2 separate regions of the Homo sapiens genome follow, and region 2 is linked to region 1. Evidence: promoter capture Hi-C in 16 types of primary human blood cells and fetal thymus (Javierre and others, 2016). All regions are on one chromosome and are shown on one strand. Each heading gives the region's core, a stretch centred on a gene start or on the middle of the fragment in contact. The rest is flanking DNA. Distances are from core to core; before and after follow the strand shown. Region 1 holds the start of NAP1L4 (nucleosome assembly protein 1 like 4). Region 2 holds the start of RHOG (ras homolog family member G).

Region 1 (6,027 bases), core at 1,411-3,910:
ACACTGCGGGGCTCAGGGCGTGGGGGAAGAGATGCAGGCAGTGGCTAGTCCCGTCCTGTCCGCGGAGGTGACCCAGCCCCGACCTCTTCGCAGAGGAAGTGTTCTCCAACCTGGGACCTGGGGGATGAGCGGGGGTTAGGCTTACGTCCCAACCACTAACGGGGCTGGTTGAAAACGGCTCCCAGGCGGAGGGGCCCTCCGCGATGTTCTCAAGGAGTAGCGCGAGGGGACGACATGGGAGGTGGGGTTCTCACATCAGCGGGCGCACGGAGTGCTGGAGGCACCGACCCGCCGCGGACGGGATTGAACTAGGGAACTGGGAGGGCGCAGGAGATAAAGACGGCTGGGGCCGGGGCCCACGGAGAGGGGTGGTGCCCAGTGTCCCGCGAGGATGTGGTGCCACCCGGGGAAGGTCCCGGGAGCGGGGACCCGGGACCCCCCGGAACCACACACGCGGTCTCCACCTTGCCCCGCCCCATTTAAAGAGGCGGAGGAACGCAGGGCGCGCGCCGCGCGGAGGAATATTTGCATATGGCGCGGCGTTTCTTCGGAGGCTTGTGATTGGTTGCTGACTGCGGCGCGAAGCGCAGTTGACTTGCGCCGCGCTCGGCGAATCGCAGCCTGTCTTGCTCGCGGAGAGAGGAGCTAGGAGCCTCGGCCAATGGGAGCCGGCGTTGTTGGAGGCCACGGCGGCGCAGCCCCAAAGCGAGCGAAGCTAGGGTCGCCGCCACTGCCGCAGGAGGCGTGAGGTGCGGAGACACGGGTGCTGGGCCGGTAACGGCGCGCTGGGGAGGGCGGCCGGGCCCGGACGGGCGGGTGGGGCCGCGGGTCCGGCGCGGGCGCGGCGGCGGCCATCTCTGGAAGCCTCGGGGCGGTGGGGCAGGGGCGGGGCCGCGTTCTGGTCGGGGCAGGCAGCGGCGGCCGCGGCGGGGCCTGGGGCTTGGGGCCTGGAGCCCGGGCCTGGGGCGCTGGCGGGAGGCCCCTCCCAACTCCCGGCGCGCCTCGCCCGGCTGCCCGCCTCACTGAAGGTCAAGGCGCTTTGTTCTGCGCCGCGGGCGGCCTCCTGGGCGGCGGCCCCTTGGAGGAGGCGAAGACGGCGAGAGGCGGCGGCCGCTCAAATCTCCCGCTAGCCCAGCCCGCCCCGCGTGCGGGGGCTGTGGCGGTTACACGGCCGGGCGCGCCGGAGCGTTCAGGCTTCCCGTTTTTAAGGTGGAGACGTCCAGGACTTCTTTATTAGATGTTTAGGAATTTGAGTTTTTCCGTAGGGCGGTTGTCATCGTGAGCCTCTGTGGGGTCAGGCTGGGCTAACTGGGGTTTTGATGTCAGTTTGGTGTGGCCGAGGGCATGTCTGACGGGGAAGAAAGTCCTTGGCGTTGCTTCTTAGCTGTTGGGAGCTGTGCGGTGGGAGCGAGCTGGGCGGCGTGCGCTCCCCGAGGACTGGCCTGAGTGGCCTTAGACTAGTTACTCACGGGACTTGGTTTCCCAGCCAAGGTGGGCAGCAAGTCTGTTTACTATTTAAAACCGTCTTTCACAAGGGAAAAGCAAAATCTCCAAAAAAAAAAATTGTACATGTTATGGATGGGAAAGTGCCATGCTTTTCTTTCAGTTCAGAGATGGTGGAAGAGGTCACATTTGTATTTTTTGACCTGACCAGAGTCTTTGTTGTTTTCAATTTTCCCCTTCTGAATGCTTTCCGTTCACCCCAGCGAAGGATGGCCTGGTCATGATAAGACTTTCCACCGTCCACAGTTCTCTAAGTCTGATTGCGGGGCAGGAGGCAGACATGTTTAGGGTCCAGTAAAGGGGACTCCAGCCTTGGGACCTTTAGACCCTAACGTGTGTGTCACATCACCTGCCTGGGTGACTGTGCGCTCCTCTGGCAGGAAGGTCCGCCATTTCATTATGTTCTCGGAGGAATCGTCGGGGCACATTCGTCTGTGCTTTGGTTCGCATCCCCCAGTCTGCATTACTTTTTCCTGTAGTAACCCGTGCCTTATCCTCCTGCATTAGGTTTACGGGGTGAAAATAGACTTTTAAAAATTCTCTTACCTTAGAAATATACAAATATGTAGATTAGGTTGTTGGACCTTAAAGGTAAGTCTTTCTAAGTTACTACCTTCCTGTAATAGTAACTATACCTCTAAATGACTAATACCTGCACTGCGCACCAGGGACTCTTTCAGCCTGTTTGCGTGTGTTAACTCATTTCATAATCTAATAACCTGAGATAGATGCTATTGTTTTTCCATTTAACTACTCTGGAAGCTGAGGCCCTGGGAGGTTAGGTATAATGACTTGTCCGAGGTGACAAAGCTTAAAGACCCAGGCAGTTTTAACTGTACCCAGGGTTACTGCTTCTGTAGAGGGAATGAAAGAAGTTTTAATGAGAAATTGTTTTCATCATTGTGCTAAGCTTAACTGAACTCTAGCTTACGAGGTTTTGAGCTGGTTGATCATTTCCATCTCAAAATTCTCTTATTCCACAGAATGCCAAATGCCTCCTATAGTAGAATTTTGAGATTCAGACTGGGATGAGCAATTGCTAATGGAATAAATAATATGCAAATGTAAAATGAAGTTCAGAGAAAGCAACGTGGTGATAGAATGGGAAAGTAATCCAAAGATAAAATGAGTGACTACAGAGAGAGAGAAAATTAGTTATTTAGTAGTAGTTCACAAGTTTACTTAGAGATATTTTTACTAGAATTTCAGGGCCTTATGATGTGATTTTTATGAACCATTTTAACACGTTACTGCCGTCTTAAATAGCTGTTATTACATATCCAATTGCAGTCTTTTTTTTTTCCTGGTTGAGCAGTGTTAGCTTCAGAATGTCTGCAGTTATTTGTGCCTATATGTCATATAGGCACATATAACACTTTTGTGAATTTTGTTGTGTAAGCTTTAAATCCGGTACTGTTTTTCAAAATGAATATGGAGTAGTCATTGGAGAAATTGGTTGAATTCTTTGCAGTAGCAAATAAATTTTAATCATTTTTAAGTTTGATAACTTTGGTAAACTGAATTCTGAAAAGTTTACACATGTTTTAGGATGTCCTCAAAATGTACAGGGCATTGTGTTTTGCAAATTAGCCATTTAGCCATCAGATTCTTCTGTAGAATTTTGATCTTTTTGCCCATATGAGAGGTAGTTCTTATTTGTATGGAGGTTAAGTACCTGCGGATGGGATGTGTTCATCACCACTTTACAGTATGAATTTGAATTTGAAACTGAAATGAAAACTTCCTAACCTGTCAGAGTTTTTAGTAGCCTCTTGTTATTGACCGCATGTTAATTCCCTTTGTTAGCTATTCGCAGCTAAGTGTGGGGACTGAAATCTTTATTTTGTTTTCCTTCTTTTGAGCAGTTGATAGTCTCTAGCATCAGGAGGAGGTGACCTCAAATATGTATGTATATATAGTAGTGCTTTTCTTCCTTCCCTTTAGTTGTCTGCAGTTTAAAAATTATTGTGATAAGTTTATGTTGTACTTCCAAAAATGTTGCCAAAGAGCCTATATTTTTCAGTTTGTTTTGGAAGAAAAATACTTTGTGGGCAAGAAGGTGATTTAAATTCCTGACGGCCTAAGAGGCGTCAGCTGTGTGAAATAGGCGAGTGCTGTTACTGCTTGAAACCATGATGGTTTATATTTGAATAAGACAGCAGAGATGAGCTTGTTGGGAGTTTGGCCTGAGATTGCTAGCTAAGGAATGCTTGCTTTTTTGCTTAAAGGGAAAAGTGTTTTAGGCTTCCAGAGTAGAAATCTGATATTACTTCGTTTGATTCTTCGACCACTATGGTGATAGGAAGTAGCTGATCTCTGCAGGAAACTGCTGTTACCTGGCCTCAGCTGAATTTTTGTGGGACCTCCTGAGGTAAGCAAATTTATGCCTCCCGAAACTATAGTTGTAAGGTTTGTCTTTGAGCATATAGTAATGGAAAACCCTTATCAGTAGGTAGATAGTAAATAATTTTGTATTTGGCTGCTAATGAAATTTTTAAGAAATAGTTTGTGGTGATATAAATTAGTTTTCATCTGGCAGTCATTGGTTTTCCACCCTGCCCTCTTAAGAGAGAACAGGGTTGCTTTACTTTGTTTGCCAGAGCTTTACATTTTGCATTTAGTAACAGAGGCATTGTGTTTTTATAGTATGAAAACAACGAAAGATCACTTTGTGATCTTTACTTTTTGATTTTGACCACTTCCTGTGTAACCTTAAGTTTCTTACAAGTATCCCCTGTTAACTGTTAAAAACGAAATGTATGTTCATTTCATGTCCTTGGGACTTTTAAAAATGCGCTGTGCATTATCTGGAAAAGCCTGTTCAAAAACAAGATGAGATAATTTCTGTTTAATTTGTGGTAGAAAGAATGACTGTGCACTTTTATGTGCAAAGGTTTTAAGTATAATAATTAAAATAGTACTTGTTTACTCAGTTACCGAAAAGTAGCTTTCAGTGATTTGCATCTGTTTACTTATTCATGAGCATCTTCTATGTACTGGGCACAGTTCTAGGTACTGGGGCCTCCCGCAGAATAAAACAGAAGTCTTTGTCCTTGTTTCTGCTATGGGAGACAGACGAACAAGTTCAATGGTGGCAGGTGCTTTTGAAAAACAGTGCAGAGGAGTAGGGACTTTGGTGGTTGCAATATGAAATAGGTAGAGAGGGAAGTGCCTTATTGACAAGATGACAAGATCTTTTAATATGTACTGGATTAAGAAGTTAGCCTCATTGAGTCGTATGCTAATGAACTGCCCAGAAAAGAAGGGTGGAGGAGATGGGAGTGCAGCAGTAAAGACTGCTGCGCCCCAAGTAAAATGTAGTGTTTTGGTTAAGGAAAGGAAATCATTTTTTGCTTTCTTCTTGAAACCCCAGGGCTTGGCACCGCAGAAGTCTCTGAAGAGACAGTCTGCTGCTGTTTGGAGGCAGGTATTTCAGTAGATCTTGTAACCAAACATGAATGACTAAGGCAGTGTTTCTCCTCTGTGTCTTCAGAAACTGCTTGAGATGTGTGCATGCAGTCCCGGGCACCATGCGTGCTGGGTACTGGTAACACAGAGACAAGTTGTCATTTGGTAGCAGTGAGTTAAGCAAAGATTTCTTGGCAACCAGTCTCATCCCGAGTCTGTTGCTGGGCCTTGGGACTTCTGTATTGAGCAAGTAGACAGGGTCCCTGCCCTCGTGGAACTTGTTCTTTAGTGGGCAAACATGTATTATTCATTGCTTTTTTTTTTTTTTTTTTTTTGAGGTGGAGTCTCGCTCTGATGCCCAGGCTGGAGTGCAGTGGCGCGATCTCGGCTCACTGCAGCCTCTGCCTCCCAGGTTCAAGCAATTCTCCTGTCTCAGCCTCCCAAGTAGCTGGGATTACAGGTGCTCACCACCACGCCTGGGTAATTTTTGTATCTTTTTAGTAGAGACGGGTTTCACCATATTGGTCAGGCTGGTCTCGAACTCCTGACCTCAGGTGGTCTGCCCACCTGGGCCTCTCAAAGTGCTGGGATTACAGGCGTGAGCCACCGTGCCCAGCCTATTCATTGCTTTTAAACATTATCATGGGCCTGGCATGGTGGCTCACGCCTGTAATCACAGCACTTTGGGGGAAGCTGAGGTGGGCAGATCACCTGAGGGTCAGGAGTTTGAGACCCTCTCCCGCCTTGGGTGACAGAGCGAGACTCCACCTCAAAAAACAACAACAACAACAAAAAACCCAGAACATTATCATGGAAAGTTTAACAACATGATTAACTTCTGATCCTGGAGAGTGGTAATGATAGACTGGATCAGGAGTCTACTGGCCTGGGCAATAGAAATGAAATCTGGACTGTCTCAGGGCTTCGTATAATCACCAGCTTTTGTGGGTGGGGATGTTGGGGTGTCCTACAGGGGTATCTTGATTCCTTCTGAGAACAGATCATTTCTTTGTCCTTTCTGATGTCCTAATCTAAAACATCCAGTACTCCTGGAGGATTTGAACTTGTGCCCAATGGCTGGTCAGACTCTCTTGGATTGAGAATGTTGGATTGCCA
Region 2 (6,027 bases), core at 1,940-4,439, 850 kb before region 1:
GTTGGCCAGGATAGTCTCGATCTTCTGACCCCATGATCCGCCTGCCTCAGCCTCCCAAAGTGCTAAGATTACAGGCGTGAGCCATTGTGCCAGGCCAGACTTGAAGGTTTTCTAAAGCCCAGCCTTGGACTTTTTCCTCCTCTTCTGATAGCTTCATATGCAAAGTCCTATACTTCATCAGACCATGAGATCTTTGAGGCTGGATCAGGTTCTCCCTCCTAAACCAGGGCTAGGCAAGCCCAAGACACTTACAGGCTCAGGAAATGCAATCTGATCCCAGGCTGCCAATCCAGTCTTTCAATCTGCAGCACCTAATGTGCTCCCTACTCTTATCACTATGTCCTTAAATTGATTTTCAAATATTTTTTGCAGGAAACTTAAAAACAAAATTAAACTCTCTATGCAGAATACTAGTAAATAAATCAGATAAAAAGCAAACCTTCTCTGGTTGAAGGGGAGAGAGTCCATAGCTCCACTGTTTTTCCTGTTCTTAAGTCCTGGGAAGGGAATTCTAGGAACACATATCAGAAACATTTCTTCTGGAGCTGGATGTGGTGGTGTGTGCCTGTAGTCCTAGCTACTTGAAAGGCTGAGGTGGGAGGATGACTCGAGCCCAGGAGTTCCAGGACAGCCTAGGCAACATAGTGAGAGTCCCATCTAAAAAAAAACAACAAACAAACCAGAAAAAACTTTTGTGCTGGGACATAATCTTTAATGGCGTCATAGAAGCTGCTTTAGCGTATGGTGTTCCTCTGAACCCTGTCATTTCTGGGGCTCACAATCCTTTCTTTATTCATGAAATACCAAGCACCCCAATGTCAAGTGGTCCCAATGGTGTATGGATGGGAATGAGAATTTCCCCTTGTGCCTCCTGCTCTCATGTCCTCCACAAAGAGGAGTTTGTCTGAAGGGCTACAGGGACCAGACCGAAGAGGAGACAAGAGACCCAAACACTGCCTGGCAGGTCAGGGGAGGCTTCTAGAGAAGGATCTTTGAGAAAGACTTCATCCACACAGTCATTCACCAGCCTGAATCTGATAAAGCCTCTGTTTTTGAGGATGATACAGTAGCCACCAGCTACACATGCTATTGACCACTTGAAATGTTTCCAGCCAAATTGAGACAAATTGTAAGTATAAAATACACACCGCATTTCAAAGACTTGGTACAAGAAAAGAATGCAAAATATCCAGTTAATTTTTATAACCAGTAATTTTTATGTTGATTACCATGCTAAAAGATAATATTTTGAGGCCGGGCGCAGTGGCTCATGCCTGTAATCCCAGCACTTTGGGAGGTTGAGGCGGGCAGATCACGAGGTGAGGAGTTCAAGACCAGCCTGGCCAACATGGTGAAATCCTATCTCCATTAAAAATACAAATATAAGCCAGGCATGGTGGCACGTGCCTGTAATCCCAGCTACTTGGGAGACTGAGGCAGGAGAATCATTTGAACCCAGGAGGCGGAGGTTGCAGTGAGCAGAGACCGCGCCACTGCAGTCCAGCCTGGTGACAGAGCGAGACTCCATCTCCAAAAAAAAAAAAAAAAAAAAAAAAAAGATAATACTTTGGCTATGGCTAAGTCAAATATAGTTAAAATTCATTTCGTTTCTTTTTACTTTTTTTGAAATGTCATTAATAGACAGTTTTAAATTACTTACGTGGTTCCTATTTATTTTTTTAAAAATATAAGTAGGCTGGGTGTGGTGGCTGACGCCTGTAATCTCAGCACTTTGGGAGGCCAAGGCAGGTGGATCAACTGAGATCAGTAGTTCGAGACCAGCGTGGCCAACAGGGTGAAACCCCGTCCCTACTAGAAATACGAAAATTAGCCGGGTGTGGTGACATGCACCTGTAACCCCAGCTACTCGAGAGACTGAGGCAGGATAACTGCATGAACCTGGGAGGCAGAGATTGCAGTGAGCCGAGATCGTGCCACTGCACCCCAGCCTGGGTGACATCGTGAGACTGTCAAAAAATATGTGTGTGTTTGTGTTTATAGAGACAAGGTTTCACCATCTCTGTAATTACAGGCAGACGCCACCGCGCCAGACTCTTAGGGTATGATATTTTTAAAAGATATTTGTTTAGTGTTTGAGATACGCATTGACAACAGGTCTTTTACACCCATTCTCATGTTATCTTCAAAACTACGGGGTGAAATATAATTATTCTATTTTACCAAAGACAGATTTGAGGCTCAGAAAGGTTAAGCTATTTATTCCTGGAATCAATCCGTTTATTTGAAAAGCTTCTGGAAGACAGGGATCCTGTCTTAAACGCTGTGTTTCTTCACAGCACCTAGCACTTAGCTCTCTCCACGTGGTAGGCGCTCAGAAACTTTGTGCTGAACGAAGGATATGGATTCTCAAGTCAAAGCTCCGAGCGCAAAGCCAGGGAGCGAAGCACCAGAGGGCGCCCATGAGCCCGCCCACCCGCGGGTCGCCGGGGCCCAAGCTGGACCTCAGGCCTGGGTGCGGCTCTTCAGCCCCAAGCAGCTGCGCGCCCCAGCAGAACAGGGGGCGAGGGGGCGAGGGAAGCCCCAAGTCCTCCGTCCGCCCCGCCCCCTCCCCAGAGCCAGGCCTCGCAGGGCTGCACGGTGCTGAATGACGACTCGACATCCTGTTTTTGGGGCCCGCGGCTCCGCCTGCGCCTCTGCTGATCTTGTCTTTCCCTTGGGTGCTGACGCCAGCTCCTCTTCCCCCCGAGTCTCCCCACCCTCCCCAGGGGTCTGGGGCCTTCCCACTGCTGAATCACCACCACCTCGCACTCCCCCGGGGCTCAGGGCAGGGGCGGGGACTGCCCCAGCCTCGGCCACCACTCTATCCCTGGGGTTGACTGAAGGGACCAGGCCCAGGGGCGCCTTTCTCAGCATCTTCCCGCGGAGGCTGGTGGGGGCGGGATGGGGGGAAGAGGACGAACGCCTAGCGCCCAGGGTAGGGCCTCCAGGGGTAGGGTGGCCAGGAGGAGGCGGAGAGACTTGACCTTGGGAGGCCTGACTTACTGACCGCAGGGGCAGCGGACTGGGAGGGGAACGTGGCAAGCCCGGGACTGGGCCGGGGGCGAGGCTGGGGGCGGGCCGGGGCTGGAGAGGGGGAGATCGGCCCTCGGACTTCCTGGTCGGGCCCCGCCCCGGCCCGCCCCGCCTCGCCGGCCCGCCCCCCCCACTTCCTCCGGCCTCCCGCTCTCACTTCCTTCTCGAGCCCGGAGCCGCTGCCGCCGCCCCCAGCTCCCCCGCCTCGGGGAGGGCACCAGGTGAGGCCCGGCCGGGGCTGGCGGGTAGGGGTCCGGGGGAGGAGAGCCCGGCCGGCCCAGGACTCGGCGCGGGCGCCGGCTCATGAGTTTGCTGGCGGAGGCCGCGGGCGGGAGCTTCTCGGTTCAGTCCAAGTAGGGCGGGCGCGGCCGGCCGGGCGGGGCGGGAACGGGGCCACTGCGAGCCGGCGGAGGCTCGGCGAGGGTGGCTTCCCGGCGGCTGTACCGCCTCTAGGGAGCCGAGAGGGACCCCTGAGGTCGGAGGGTCCCGGGCTCCAAGATAAGTGTCTCTGAAGTGGAAGAGCTCAGAGCTGGGAGATCGGACGCAGGTGGGGTGTCCTCAGAAGTTGGTGGGGGGGGTGTTGAGAAGTGCGTGAGGGGAGAGGGCTTCTGGGCTGGAAAAGGCGCTCCCTCTGCTCTGGCAGTTGTGACACTTGGGGTGAGAGGGGCGGTGTCTGGGGCCTCCGAAAGCTCTCTCCCTGTCAGATGGATGCTAATACAGACCCACACTCGGTCTGCAGCCCCAAGGCCCTCTGCACTCAGGAGGACCCGGGTTGGGTGGGGGAGCCCCGCCGACCCCAGTCGTTGTCTGTATGTCTGTTTTCCTGAGTCCCGACCTTACCTGGAGCCAAGCAGTAGGTATTTAGTGAGCAGACGCTGTTCCTAGCTGACCAGAGCCTGGCCTTGCTCTTTTGGGAGTAACTTGGTCTTGCCCTGTAACTGGAAGTGGAAGGACTCTCATTCAGAGGTACTGATAGTCCCTGACAAGTTTTTGTTGTGTCTTTTGGGGACAATTGAGAACCATCTCCTAGTGTTCCTCTTCATTCTTAGTCCCTGAATTATACACATGCTCCTGTCGTCTCCCTCCACACCTTCTTTAGTTTCTACCCACAAATCCGCCATCACTCTCTTCTCATCCCTTCCAGTCTCTTTTCCTCCAAACATACGGTCATACCTAGGCCTTGACCTGTCTTCACCTACCCTGCCCCATGTTCGTCTTGGTCCTCTGCAACCTGCCCCATCCCTTCCCTTCCCAGCTCTGGCACCCACACACATGCACCTCCTGGTTTCTTCCATCACCCCTCATTCCTTTTGAACCCTCAGCCTGTCACCCTCTCTGTATCCTTCCCTCCCACCCACTTATCTCCAGCTTTGGAATCAGTTGTTGAAGACTTAGTGAGTTCTAGAGTCTTTTCAAACCTCCCTAGCTTGGAGAGGCAGTCTGCAGCCTCCCAGTGATAGAGACGGATTAAAGAGCTGGAAAGCCTGTGTGTGTGTGTGTGTGTGTGTGTGTTTGCGTGTGTGTTCGCACGCGCGTGTCTGTGTATCTACATCTTCATCTCTTAGAGATGGATTAAAGAGATGGAAAGCCTGTGTGTGTGTGTGTGTGTGTGTGTGTGTGTGTGTGTGTTCGCGCGCGCGTGTCTGTGTGACTACATCTTTATCTCTTACAGACAAAATAACTGCCCTCAGCCTTGAGAGGGCCCAGAGCAAGGGAAGCCAGCAGAATGAAGGGAACCTGCAGTGAGTGAGGTTGTGGTTAGGCAGGAGGAAGCCGTTTGTAGCAGTCAGGGTAGGGTGACACAGGAATAAGACTTGTAAGAGAGGCCGTGGGAAATCAAAATCACCCCAACCCGTGGTGCTTGACCAAGAGGCCAGGCCTAGAAGCCGGAAGACAGCCTGAAGGTCCCTGACTCCATTACCTACTAGTTCCAGCATCACCTGGTGGAAAGAATGGGACCAGCTTGGGTGTGATGGAAATAAAGGGAGGAGGCAAATGCAGGATTCTGGAGGAAAGACTGCAGCTGGTCTAACTTCGGACTTAAGAAGCGGCGGAGGCAAAAGTGTCTGCTCCTTTCCTGCTACCTTCTGGGGCCTGCCTAGGCTGGGTACCCGCATGCCCTGATCTGCATCAGGGCCTTAGTGACCAGGAAGCCCTCTGGAGTTCTACTGACCCCTCTGCCTTCAGGCATCCTTAATACTCCCCATCTCACCTAGGACCCTATTCCTTCTCAGGAATTCCTCCCAAATTTAACTTCAGTCCATCCTGGCTATGGAGGCTCTTGTTTCCACTCTAGAGCTCCATCCTCAAGCTTTTGGGGTGCATCTGAGGATCTTGCTCCTGTCTACCTCCTCTAGTCATCTGTATTCATTTCTCTCCACTAGAAAAAAAGAGAAGTAGAGGGGAGTAAGTGCTACAGCTAAATTTAAGGGCTCTCCCTGTTCCCCATTCTGTCATCTTCCCATGTCACAGTCGTCCCTCTCCCATGAATTGTTCTTCTTCCAGTCCTGCCCTTCCAACCACTTGTCTCTCTTCCCATTTCTTGGAGGTACAGAAGTTTGGGTCCGGGAAGAAATCCCAGGGACCTACATAAGAGCCCAGGTTAGAGAAGGATGTGCATACAAGGCACTTTCCCAGCATCACAGCTTAATAAAAACCCCAGGAGTCCCAGTTCCTAGGCTGGCAAACCAGTAGTTACTTTAGTATTCTGCGTAACTGAGCAAACCCACAGGGCTCTGATGGTAAAGACAAGATGGGTGAGACAGGGATTCTCCCAGGTGAGATCTGGCCCCATTGGAAGTTTGAGCTAATTGCAAAAAAGGCATCATTGGAAAAAATGTGACCAGGGCGGGAGAGATTTTAATGGGAAAATATTGGGGGGTAAAGGGAGGTGGTGGCTACAACCTAGGAGGCTGCCGCTGAAGTCTTGGCTAAACAGGTATGGTCAAGGTTGTGACATGAAGAAGGGGGCTCAGGCCCACACTGAAGACTCCT

What was found. Contacts are between HindIII fragments. The CHiCAGO score rates a contact against its expected background, and 5 or more counts as called.
Region 2: the fragment with the promoter of RHOG here is called in contact with a fragment that was not itself captured in region 1 in 2 of 17 cell types (fetal thymus and activated CD4 T cells); the score reaches 8.6 in fetal thymus.

What each region holds. Positions count from the first base shown.
Region 1 is chr11:2,986,976-2,993,002 of GRCh38, reverse strand. It overlaps NAP1L4 (nucleosome assembly protein 1 like 4), which reads left to right and starts at 674. Exons shown (of 16, transcript NM_005969.4): 1 at 674-749. RefSeq lists enhancers at 410-704, 1,249-2,105. The HindIII fragment of the contact is 489 bases long and covers 2,416-2,904 here.
Region 2 is chr11:3,838,121-3,844,147 of GRCh38, reverse strand. RHOG (ras homolog family member G) reads left to right here and starts at 3,189. Exons shown (of 2, transcript NM_001665.4): 1 at 3,189-3,254. LOC124902619 (a long non-coding RNA gene) reads right to left here. Exons shown (of 2, transcript XR_007062560.1): 2 at 5,873-6,027. RefSeq lists silencers at 2,249-2,298, 2,339-2,608, 2,959-3,008, 3,059-3,448 and an enhancer at 4,849-5,048. The HindIII fragment of the contact is 3,094 bases long and covers 2,253-5,346 here.